Regions from separate parts of the Homo sapiens genome. Here region 1 is linked to region 2. The links are contacts of gene promoters, found by promoter capture Hi-C in human tissues and cell types (Jung and others, 2019). All regions are on one chromosome and are shown on one strand. The core of a region is centred on a gene start or on the middle of the fragment in contact, and the rest is flanking DNA. Distances in the headings are between cores, read along the strand shown. Region 1 overlaps EPB41 (erythrocyte membrane protein band 4.1). Region 2 holds the start of TMEM200B (transmembrane protein 200B).

The links. The method cuts DNA at HindIII sites, captures the fragments that hold promoters and counts their contacts. A contact is called where the count stands out against the background at its distance.
Region 1: a contact is called between a fragment that was not itself captured here and the fragment with the promoter of TMEM200B in region 2, in 1 of the 25 tissues and cell types used here (mesendoderm cells).

What each region holds. Positions count from the first base shown.
Region 1 is chr1:29,085,137-29,091,034 of GRCh38, reverse strand. The region is part of intron 16 of EPB41 (erythrocyte membrane protein band 4.1); the gene reads right to left. Among named protein-coding and RNA genes, the nearest start is that of TMEM200B, 36 kb to the left of the region's middle. The HindIII fragment of the contact is 7,588 bases long and covers 1-5,898 here.
Region 2 is chr1:29,121,513-29,128,091 of GRCh38, reverse strand. It overlaps TMEM200B (transmembrane protein 200B), which reads left to right and starts at 4,189. Exons shown (of 2, transcript NM_001003682.4): 1 at 4,189-4,236; 2 at 6,244-6,579. The coding sequence starts at 6,264. RefSeq lists enhancers at 2,196-3,055, 3,056-3,915, 3,916-4,775 and a silencer at 6,455-6,579. The HindIII fragment of the contact is 25,455 bases long and covers 1-6,579 here.

The sequences.
Region 1 (5,898 bases), core at 1,968-4,467, 36 kb after region 2:
AATTTCAACTCAACAAATATTTACTGAGCACCTAACATGTACTAGTCTTCAGAAATAAAAGAAAAACATAACAGTTGGGTTGGATTACCATTTATAGCACACTCACATATGGTCAAATCAACTTCTCAAGTTGACACTGTTATCCAGATCTCCAGGACAACACAGACAATTATTTGTTGAGCATCCTCCCAGGGGTGTAGAATGCAACATGTTGCAAACTAAACTCATCTCTGCTGCTCTCTGGGCTTCCCACCCCAACTTCCTCTATCATTTCTTTTCTTTTTGAGACAGGGTTTCGCTCTTGTTGACCAGGTTGGAGTGCAATGGCGCGATGTCAGCTCACTGCAACCTCTGCCTCCCAGGTTCAAGCGATTCTCTTGCCTCAGCCTCCCGAGTAGCTGGGATTACAGGCATTTGCCATCGCGCCCGGCTAATTTTGTATTTTTAGTAGAGACAGGGTTTCTCCATGTTGGTCAGGCTGGTCTTGACCTTCTGACCTCAGGTGATCCACCTGCCTCAGCCTCCCAAAGTGCTGGGATTACAGGAGTGAGCCACCACATCCGGCCCCTCCGTCACTTCTATCATATTAGTAGAAGGCATCTCCATCCATCCATCCAATCATCCATGCCAGAATTCTGAGAATCATCTTCAACTTCTTCCTTACATTTATCCGCTAACCCCCAGAGATTATGTCATCAAGGCATTTTTATTCCATTTTAATATCTACTTTATCTATTTGCTTTAATGTTTCCCTCATCAATTCCCACATTTACTACCTTTGTTCAAGCTCTTCGCCCAGGCTGGAGTAGAGTGGTGCAATCTTGATTCACTGAAACCTCCACCTTCTGGGTTCAAGTGATTCTCTTGCCTCAACCTCCAAGTAGCTGGGGTTACAGATGCGTGCCACCATGCCCAGCTAATTTTTGTATTTTTAGTTGAGACAGGGTTTCACCATGTTGGCCAGGCTGGTCTTGAACTCCTTACCTCAAGTGATCTGCCCACCATAGCCTCCCAAAGTGTTGAGATTACAGGTGTGAACCACTGTGCCCAGCCTGTTAAAGCTCTTAGAACGCCTCATCCAGATTACCACAAATGCCCTCAACGGTTTTTCTTCTTTCCTTTCTTCCTTCCTTCTTTCTCATCTCAAACCTTCCTTGAACGTGTCCTCTATTATGCTGCTAAAGTGCTTATTTCTAAAATTAAACACTGAAAATTCAGTTTTCTAGTTTAAAACCCTTCACTGGGTTTTAGTAAGACAGAAAATACTTTAAAATCTGACCCTTACCTCTCTCTCCAGCTTCATCCAGCTACAACTCCACATATATCCTTCTCCCCATTACTCCAAAACTATTTGTATTCCCTAGGACAGAGCATCTTTCTATTATCTCTGTGCCTTTGTAAATCTTATTCCTTCTGCCTGGAAGTCCACACTTAGCTCAACTGTCATTTCTTCTAGATTTTCCTTGGCTGCCTGAAGTATGTTTAGATACCAGTCCTCTTTGGTTCCCATTGTACCCTGTCATCACTGGCATATTCATCTGTCTTTTCCATTAGCCTATGAAATCCTTGGGGGATGAGAACTTGTTACTGTCTTACTTAGCTCTCTATCTTTCTTGTACAGTTTTTGGTATGTAATAGATGCTCAGTAAAAACGTGTTGAAGGTATGTTAGGTAAATCCAGGTCACTTGAGAACTTCTTCTTTGTCCTGTGCTATTCTGTAACTAAAATGTTTAGAAAAGCATGTTTAGGAAGAAATAAACAGTGGCTCATTTGACCAGACTCATAGTCTAGTCCAGCATTTTATCTCCTCCATCAGTAAAATAAGAGAAAACTAATATTTTTGTATGTTTACCATGTGCCAGGTGCTGTGCTAATCACTTGAGCATGTTTTTTCATTTAATTATTTACAGTATAATTATGAAGTAGTCATTATTTCTATTTTATAGATGAACAGATGAGCAGCTAGTGTTTAGACTCAGATCTATCTCTGGTTCTAAAGCCCATCTTCTTCCCATGACACCAGAAGGTATTTCAAGTAGGACCAAAGCACATGTCCTATTTATTTTACTTATGTATATATTTATTTTTTAGACATAGGCTCTCACTATGATGCTCAGGCAGGATTCAAATCCCTGGGCCCAAGGGATCTTCCCATCTGAGGCTCCCGATTAGCTAGGACTACAGGCACATGCCAGTGTGCCCAGCTTCAGGACATGTCCTATTATGCTCAAAATAACACACAGCAAACCCGACTTTAACTTTGAGACATACAAACAGCGCCCAAACTCCTCTTAACAGAGTCTGTTCTGAGTGGCTGACACTAGATTTTTACATATAAGAAGGCTGAGAAGCCAGAAGACAAGACTGGCCAGAAGAAAATATAAAGTCTCCATGACACAAGACACCCAGAATTTGGCATTTAATATCAGTAAAGAATTCTGACAGTGTTGTTGCCTTTGGCTGTGACCATCATCAAGGGCCATTGGATTATATAAGACTGCAACTGCACATACCAAATTAGCCTGAAAACTTTAAAGGGATCTTCTCAAGTAGAAGATGAATATATGGCTGTGTCTGAACCATCCTCAGTGACAAAAAGGCAAAGCTGAGACTTAATGTGATTCAAAGGTGTTAATCTAGATGTCGCTTACCTGAACTGATGGGGAATCTGTAAGAAAAAAGATGCTGGCCGGGTGCAGGGGCTCACACCTGTAATCCTAGCACTTTGGGAGGCCGAGGCGGGTGGGTCACCTGAGGTCAGGAGCTTAGGACCAGCCTAGCCAACATGGCGAAACCCCGTCTCTACTAAAAATACAAAAATTAGCCAGGCGTGGTAGCGCACGCCTGTAATCCCAGCTACTCAAGAGGCTGAGGAAGGAGAATCGCTTGAACCCAGGAGGTGGAGGTTGCAGTGAGCTGAAATCGTGCCACTGCACTCCAGCTTGTGCGACAGGAGGGAGGCTCCATCTCAAAAAAAAAAGAAAAAAAGAAAAAAAGAAAAAGGAAAAAAGATGCTATGATAGAAAGATTGGCTGCCTATATATATAAAGTACTGCAATGATATCTAGTTGGTTTTAATAATATGAAAAAAAGAATATTAGACAAATATTTAACTGAACAGAAACATTATTTGAAGATTCTCAATTTCATTTAAAAAGTCAATGGCTCCTGCTAAGTATGATAATTCAGTATTTTCTTTGTTTTGGGGAAGAAAACAAGATTTTTTTTCCTAAAGGCTTTCTCTCAAAAACTATTTATGCAAAGGGATTATGTCTCAGAATCATCAGACCCTGATTATATATATGCCTTTATGAGTTATAAATTACCCCTTTTTTGACCTATGAATTCCAGATATTATTAAAAGCAGGATATGGGCCGGGCGCAGTGGCTCACGCCTACAATCCCAGCACTTTGGGAGGCCAAGGCGGGTGATCATCGGAGGTTGGGAGTTCGAGACCAGCCTGACCAACATGGAGAAACCCCGTCTCTAATATAAATACAAAATTAGCCAGGTGTGGTGGCGCATGCCTGTAATCCCTGCTACTCGGGAGGCTGAGGCAGGAGAATTGCTTGAACCAAGGACGTGGAGGTTGCAGTGAGCTGAGATTGTGCCATTGCACTCCAGCCTGGGCAACAAGAGCAAAACTCCATCTCAAAAAAAAAGCAGGATATGGGTGTTTTATAGGTATTTTGCTGCCACTCCAACAAATGCAATCCAGAGTCTATTTCTTTTCAGGTTATTTTTGAAGTAAGGATTTACATATTTGAAGAGACTATCAAAAGAACCACAGTTGGCTGGGCACGGTGGCTCACACCTGTAATCCCAGCACTTTGGGAGGCCAAGGCGGGCGGATCACAAGGTCAGGAGATGGAGACCATCCTGGCTAACATGGTAAAACCCTGTCTCTACTAAAACTCCAAAAAATTAGCCGGGCATGGTGGCGGGCGCCTGTAGTTCCAGCTACTCAGGCTGAGGCAGGAGAATGGCGTGAACCCAGGAGGCGGAGCTTGCAGTGAGCCAAGATTGTGCCACTGCACCCCAGCCTGGGCGACAGAGCAAGACTCTGTCTCAAAAAAAAAAAAAAAAAAAAAAGAACCACAGTTAAGCTTACAAGAGTGTCTTATCCTTTAAGAGATCAAAGTGAAAATATATCCTGAAAATTTTTCTAAAATTTTGCTACATAAGAGCCATGTATGAGTACCTGTGTAGTAATTTTATCCCCACACATTTAGTCACTTGTTCCCCACTTAGTGAAGACCAATTTTACCTTTTAGTGGCAATAGAAAAACAACTCCTTTCTCTATTAAAAGGAAGAAAACACACTGCTATTGTCTCATTTTATCTTTCTATATAATTCAAAGACTAAATCCTCCTCTTGATCAGTTATGCTTCATTTCTTAGCCATTTAAAAATTATATTTTCCAATGTGTATAAATATACACATGAAAAGGATCTTAAGGTGGCCGGGCGCGGTGGCTCATGCCTGTAATCCCAGCACTTTGGGAGGCTGAGGCGGGTGGATCATGAGGTCAAGAGATCGAGACCATCCTGGCCAACATGGTGAAACCCCGTCTCTACTAAAAATACAAAAATTAGCTGGGTGTGGTGGCATGTGCCTGTAGTCCTAGCTACTCCGGAGGATGAGGCAGGAGAATCGCTTAAACCTGGGAGACGGAGGTTGCAGTGAGCCGAGATGGCACCACTGCACTCTAGCCTGGTGACACAGCAAGACTCTGTCTCAAAAAAAAAAAAAAAAAGGAAAGACAAAAGATTTTAAGGTGTACTAAAATATTAATAATCAAGGGATTGCAAACGATCTTTTTGTTTGTGGTTTTTCTCTATTTCCTAACCTTTCTAAAACAAGTATGTATTACTTTGGTAATAAAAAGTGATTATTTTCTTATGCAAGCACTTGTATCTGGTTTCAGTAGTGAAATGATCTTTAAAACCTGAAGAGTCTAGTAAACAATTTATGCAGAAAGTGCTAAAAAATCCTTAACATCTTCCAAGCCTTTTAAAAACAGTAAAAAATAAGCCTTAATAGGCTTCTAAAAGAAAAAAGTAGTTAGAGGAAAGAATTATAAGCTAGTAACTGGTATGTAATATAAAAGTTCTCTTTTATAAGGGGAATATAATATTAAACCTTGGTAATTTAGTTAGTTGGTTTTGAAAGTCAAAGTCAGCTGGGTGAGGTGGTTCACGCCTTTAATCCCAGCACTTTGGGAGGACGAGGCGGGCAGATTGCTTGAGTCCAGAAGTTCGAGACCAGCCTGGGCAATATGGCAAGACCCCATCTCTACCAAAAATACAAAAAATTAGCCAGGTGTGGTGGTGTATGCCTATATTCCCAGCCACTAAGGAGGCTGAGGTGGGAGGATCACTTGAGCCTGGCAGGTGGAGGTTGTAAACTTGGGGTAAAAAAGAAAAGAAAAGAAAGTCAAAGTCAATGATGATGAATTTAATATATCTGTATAACTGGTGGAAAAGAAATACTTCAAATTTAAGTTGTAGCTTCATTGTATTTTAATGTTTTCTGATTTAGAGGTAGAAGCGATATTATCAGGAAAGTGATTTAAAATGTGGTTTTTGGCCAGGTGTGGTGGCTCACGCCTGTAATCCTAGCAATTTGGGAGGCTGAGGCAGGCGGATCATTTGAGATCAGGAGTTCGAAACCAGCCTGGCCAACATGGTGAAACCCCATCTCCACTAAAAATACAAAAAAATTAGCCGGGCATGGTGGCGGGTGCCTGTAATCCCAGTTACTCAGGAGGCTGAGGCATGAGAATCACTTGAACCCAGGAGGCAGAGGTTGCAGTGAGCCAAGGTCATGCCACTGCACTCCAGCCTGGCAACTGAGTGAGACTCCAACTCAAAAAAAAAAAAAAAAAAAAGAAGA
Region 2 (6,579 bases), core at 2,940-5,439:
GGCCCGGAGAGGGACGGACATGCAGGAGGCAACAGCCATTCCTTCTGCGAGGTGGCTTCTGGAGAGGACACGGAGCCTCAGGTTGGCAGGGGCTTCGGGGTCACTGAATCAGGTTTCCTGTTTCCACAGAGAAGGTTAGGGGAGAAATGTTCATCCCCTGGTCCCCAGGGGACATCTCATCCAGGCCTTCCAAGTTCAGAAGTGGAGTCCAGGTCACACAGATGCCAGGGCAGATTCAGGAAGGGTCCTGGCCTCATGGGAGCAATCAGTGTCCCAATATTGAGGCCACTAGCAGCCCACACATCTGCACATTCACAGGGCCTAACCAAGCAGTCCTGGGGAGGGTCCCTCCAAAGAGAAGTGGGCACTGATCAGCCTGGCTGTGCCTGTGGGCAGGTCGCTTTGCCTCTTCCAAACCACATATGTGAACTGGGCATAGCACTGACCTCCTGGAGCTCTCAAGAGAATTAAACAGGACATCTGGGAAAGGGGGCCCTTCCCTCCTCTGCCACCCCAGTGACCCCAGGGAAGGTTTCTACCCACCCCAAACACTACCCTCTGTACCTGAAACGTCATGATCAGAAGAGGGAGAGGTGTTTGCTGGAACCCACTTTGTGCCAGGCACTCAACATGTGAACCCTTTCTTAAATTTTTTTTTTTTTTTTGAGACCGAGTCTCACTTTGTCACCCAGGCTGGAGTGCAGTGGTGCCATCTCGGCTCACTGCAACCTCCGCCTCCTGGGTTCAAGCCTATATACCTCTTCTCTAAATCCTCTCAGGGTCCATAGAATCCTTTCCTGGACACTAAGTCTCCTTTGAAGAACTCATTTGTTTCCTTATTTGGTCATCTTTCTATTATACAAGCTTTTTTTTTTTTTTTCCTTTTTAGACAGAGTCCGCTCTGTCACCCAGGCTGGAGTGCAGTGGTACCATCTTGGCTAACTGCAACCTCCACCTCCTGGGTTCAAGTGATTCTCCCACCTCAGCCTCCTGAGTAGCTGGAATTACAGGAACCCACCACCGCGCCCAGCTAATTTTTTTTTTTTTTTTTTTTTTTTGAGACACAGTCTCGCTCTGTCGCCCAGGCTGGAGTGCAGTGGCACGATCTCAGCTCACTGCAAGCTCCGCCTCCCAGGTTCACGCCATTCTCCTGCCTCAGCCTCCCGAATAGCTGAGACTACAGGCGCCCACCACTGTACCCGGCTAATTTTTTGTATTTTTTAGTAGAGACGGGGTTTTACCGTGTTAGCCAGGATGGTCTCGATCTCCTGACCTCATGATCCGCCCACCTCAGCCTCCCAAAGTATTGGGATTACAGGTGTGAGCCACCGCACCCGGCTAATTTTTGTATTTTTAGTAGAGATGAGGTTTTACCATTTGGCCAGGCTGGTCTCGAACTCCTGACCTCAAGTCATCCTCCCATCTCGGCCTCCCAAAGTGCTGGGATTACAGGCATGAGCCACCAGGCCCAGCTTCTTTAAAAAAATTTTGAAACAGGATCTCACTCTGTCACCCAGGCTTTGCAATCATGGTTCACTATAGCCTCAAACTCCTGGGGTCAAGAGATCCTCCTGCCTCAGTCGCCCGAGTAGCTGGGACTATAGGCATGCGCCACAGTACCTGGCTAATTTTTAAATTTTTTTGTAGAGACAGGGTCTTGCTATGTTGCCCAGGCTGGTCTTGAACGCCTAGGCTCCAGTGATCCTCCCTCCTCAGCCTCTCAAAGTGCTGGGATTACAAGTGTGAGCCACCGCACCCGGCCACAGGTGAACTGTTATTTAACCTTCAAAACAACACTGTGGGGTAGGTATTATTTCTCCCTTTTTACAAATGAGGAGCCTGAGACAGAGAGGAGTCCTTTCTTTCTCCTGCTGTCTGGGCCAGGGCACCTGGCATGGAGATCAGGAAGGTATTCGGGCTGAAGGAGACACAGGCCTGCACACCCTCCTCTAATGGGGATGGCCAGCTGTGGGCAGACACTGTGCTGGGCACAGGGCTCCAGGGATGAGCAAGACAGACCTAGTCCTGCCCCCTCAGAGTCATGGCCAGTGGGGACACAGACAGGAAACAGACTCCACTCCCAGTGGGTTCAGTTTGCAGGTGCACAGGGAAGCTGCTGGTGTTGTGAGGGTGTACAACAGAGCAGGAGAGCGGGTACTGACCTGGTCTGGGGGCTGGGGGAAGGCCCAGGGTCTGAAGGATGTGTAGAAGGTGGCAAGGGCACGACCAGGGGGTAAGTGTTCCTGCCGGAAAGCAAGGACCAACCAAGCCCTGAGGGAGTGTAAGAGGCCCGGGGCCAGTTCGTGGAGACAAGAAGAGATTTCCAACTCGATTTGGGGAGTCACTGATGGTTTTAAGCAGGTAGTGGCAGGCTCAGATTCAGAGTGGAAACCCTTGCTGCCTGTCTGCAGCGCACTAGGACACGGGGAGGCAGGAGACCATGGGCTCCAGGAGGAGCCTGGACGCCGGAGCAGGACAGTGGCCATGGGAAAGGGAGAACGTGGCTGGCCCCAGATGAAAAGAGCAGGGCCCCCAAGGCTCTGTGAGTGGGATGAGAGGGGGAGAGGAAGGGGCCAAGGCTGACCCCGTGCTTGGGTGGACAAAGGGCCCTTCACAGAGCTGGAGGCAGGGGATGATCGAGGGGCCCAGGGAGTCAGACTAGAAGCCGGGCTTATTGGAGGAAGAGCAGTGGGCTGGGAGAGGCAGGCATGGAGTGGGATTGAGGGAGCCCAGGGGTGGGAGGGAGAGCTGGGAGGCGGAGGTGCGACCGCGGTGGGGTCAGTGTGCGGGGAGTGGACGAAGCGGAGGATTGATGGGGGCGGGGGTCCCAAGCAAAGATGCTGGAGGGAGGCCTCCGTGGAGCGGACCGAGACCTCAGGAGCCTCCAGTCGGACTGGGGAGGCAAGAAGGAGGCCCTGGCTTCGATCTCGCACACGGCCTCGCAGGGATGAAGCCCGGGAGCCGAGGCTCGGTCTTCCCCACTGTGGTCCCTCTGGTCCGCCCGTTACCTCACCGACCCCCCGAGGGGGCTTTTAAGAGCTGGAAGAGGGGGTCCCGGGGGGCACTGATGCACCCCCACTCTCCTCCGCCGACCCAGAGGGTGGGAGCTCAGGTTCAAGGCCTGGCCTGGCCGTGCGGCTCCGGGACCCGGCTCCGCCCCGCGTCGGGGGGTGGCCCCGGCCCCTGGCCCGCCCCTTCCTCGGGTCCCCTCCCTGTCCGCGGCGCGCAGCCGGGTCTCATTAGCGCCCCTCCCCCCGGCTGCGCGCCGGGGGTCTCCACGGCCGGGGGGAGGGGCGGGCCTTAATCAATCCTAGGCCGGAAATTCCTCCCGGGGGGCCCGGCCTGACCGCTGAGCCTGGAAATCGGTCGCCGCCTCCCCCGAACCCGCCCCCCGCATCATGGAAACTGGGCCGACCGCCGGCCGCCCTGGCTCCCCCGCTCTGCATTCCTGCCTCCAGGGGCGGGAGGGCGCGAAGGCCGGGCCGCCCCCTTCGGGCTCGCCGGCGGGGTCGCAGCTCTCAGCACCCTCCCCGTTATTGGGAACAAGCCCGCTCCCCCACTGGCGAAGGGGCGCCTGTTCTTAGGAGTACCCGGCGGCACATCCGCACCCCGTCCGGTCCTTTCAGCTACAAGGCCCGCCCCTCCCCGGGCGCTGCTTTCGCTGAGGGCTTTGCGGAGTCGCCCCGGGCTGGCCCTTGGCGTCTGGCTCTTGCCTCTCGGCATCTTGCGAGGCTGAAGCCTTGGTGCCCATTGCACAGATGAAGTCCGCGAGGTTCAGCGACAGCAAGGGCTGCGGGACCGGGGCAGAGCAGGGACTCGGGCCGCCTCCTCCTGGAAGCTCCCCGGGCGCCTGGGATGAGGGGCTCTGGGAAGCGGGGAAGGACGTGCGGGTGTCGGGGCTCCTGGGTCCCGGGTCTCAGTTTCCCCATGTAGGAAGGGGTCGCCTTTGTGGGCCTTTGCGACCGATGTAAGCTGGGGGTGGGAGAGTGGGGATGGCAGAACTCGGGCCACGGGTGCCCGGAGTCACCAGGCGCGCACAGGGCGCCTACCTGCGATCCTTTGACCTGAGCTGCCGCCTTTCAGCGGCGGTGGGGCCGGGCCCGGCGCGGGTCGGACGGTCCCGGGGGCTGGAGGCGGGGCCGGGGCGGGGCTGGGGCCGGGCCGTGGAGACCCGGGCGGCTCTGGAGCCTCCGCGCGCGGACTGGGACCCGGACCCGCGCGGCGCTGCGGCGCCAGGTGAGCCGAGCTGGGGTCCAGGGGTCCGCACTCCACTTTTCCCAACTTTTCGTTTGGTCCCTCCCTCCCTCCCTCCCTCCCTCGGTCAGGGCCCCTGGGGGCGGGAGCGCGGCCCTCCCGTTCCCCCAGGCGGGAGTGTGGACGCGGGCGGTGGCGGGACCCTGGAGTCCTGGGGACTCGGCCCCAGCATCTTCTGTCGGGCTGTGCGCTGTGTCCCCAAGTTTCCGCCTCCCTGGTGTCCCCAGCGTCGGCCCACTACCTCCACGGCTCGGGGTCTCTGAGCGTGTCCCCATGTCCCCACTCTGCTTGTTTTCGCTTCCCTCGCGGCAGCGACGCGCGGGGCTCCGGGTGACCTTGCTGGAGCCGGGGCTGAGAGCGCCAGTTCTGGCTTGAAGCGATGATCGCTCCTCCGGTTGCGGGCTGGGGAAAGGGCTGCAAACTCAGGGACAAGGAGGGGATGGGCCTCGCTTCCTCCTGGATACTCCCGTGGCTGTCCTGAGAGGGGTCTAGGGCTGGGGCCCCGGAGCCCGGCGTCGGACCTGGCAGAGCCCCCGCCTAGTGCGGGGTCGGGCAGTCTCCCCGGCCTCCCTGGGCCGTAGTTGCAATCTGTGAAACCAGGCTTTGGACGCGGGAGAGTGGCGGCTCCCTGCTAGGCCCGGGCCTTGAGCGCTCCAGTCGGAGGCAGGGATGGGTGTCCTGCTTTGAGGTTTGGGGTGCAGATGGGGCGTGGGTCGGGGAGCAAGGCCGCCTCCCCGAGGTTTCGGCTGCGGGCTCCAGCGCGGTGGTTCTTTAGGAAGCGGACGCGAGCAGTGAGGACGACCCTGGACAGCTAGGCCCTGAGCCTCCTCTCCTGCGGCCTGGGGCGCCTGGGCGGGGGCCGCGTCTTCTCCCTCGCCCTCCCTTTCGTGGGGGCCACACCGCACGCAGCTCGGCTACTCCTGCTGGGCCCGGGATCCAGGCCACAGGCCGCAGGCAGGGCGCGGCCAGCAATCGGGAGGGCTTAAGCTGTGCGGCCCGGATCCCGAGGCGCAGGGGCGGTGCTGCTCTGACCGGGCCACGGGCCACGGAGGCCTCGGGCGGAGGAGGCGGGAAAGGAGGCCAGGCGGCGGGAAAGGGGGATGATTCATCCGGAGGAGCCCGAATTGGAAACGTCGCAACCTGGGAACAGCCTTGCCCGGGCCGACGGGGGAGCCGGGAGGGCATCCGTCCGGCGGGGCCCAGCGCCCGGCACCGGCACCCCCGCCTGCTGCCGTGGCCCCAGCACGACCGCTGGGGGAGGGAGAGGCCTCTCATGCGTGGACTTGATGGAAATCTTGGGCGAAGTCGGCGCCGCCTCTCCTCCTCTGCCTGGCTGGTCTTGATCCGAGCGGTCTTCCCGGTGTCTAGCTCAAGTCGCTCCTGCTGCAGCTTCGCTGCGGGCGGAGGAGGTCTGGAAGGAGGGGGCGGGCAGGGAGAGGCTGGAGCCGGTGACGCCCCCTCCTCCCGCGCTGCGGTATGTAAAGCACAGTAGGGGGGAGGTGGGGCCCGGCGAGCGACCCCTGCGGACCTGGGAGGCCCGAGCGCCCCCGCCCCATTTGCTACGGTGCAGCCACGTGCGGGGGTGGGGTCGAGCCCGGGAGGTACTTACCCTGGAGACGCGGCAGCTGGGGGCCGCACGTTTCCCGAGGCCCAAGACCCGCGGGCTTGCGGACCGGACGCAGGCGGCAGATTTGCAGCCCGGGATGCGCCAGGGAACAGCCTGCGCCCCCCTCCCTCCTCTCCGCCCGCTGGCCGGGCCAACTCCGGCTTCTGCCGCGCGTGCCTGGCTCGGAGCTCCGCTGCGGAAAACCCGAGCGCGGGCGGCTCCCCGCCTCGCCGCCCGGGAAAATCCGGGGGTGGCCGCCAGGGATCTCCAAGCGGCCTGGGCTGGGCGGCCGGAGCTTCCCTCCCGGATTTGCGCCCCGAACCTGGCGCCCTGAAGCTAGAGGCCCGTCGGTCCAGTCCTTGCCTCCCATCTTCTCTCCGCAGAGCGCCCAGACGACGGCGAGATGACGGCCGGGAGCCCCGAAGAATGCGGGGAGGTGCGGAGGAGCCCCGAGGGCCGCGTCTCTCGCTTGGGCCGCCGCCTGGGCCGCCGCCGGCGCCCGCGCTCCCCGCCCGAGCCTCTGCGGGTGCGGGCGCGGCTGCGGCTGCGCTCGCCGTCGGGGGCGTTCGCGGCGCTGGGGGCGCTCGTGGTACTGGTGGGTATGGGCATTGCAGTGGCCGGCTACTGGCCGCACCGGGCCGGGGCCCCAGGGTCCCGGGCCGCCAATGCCAGCTCGCCCCAGATGAGCGAGCTGCGACGCGAGGGTCGCGGCGGGGGCC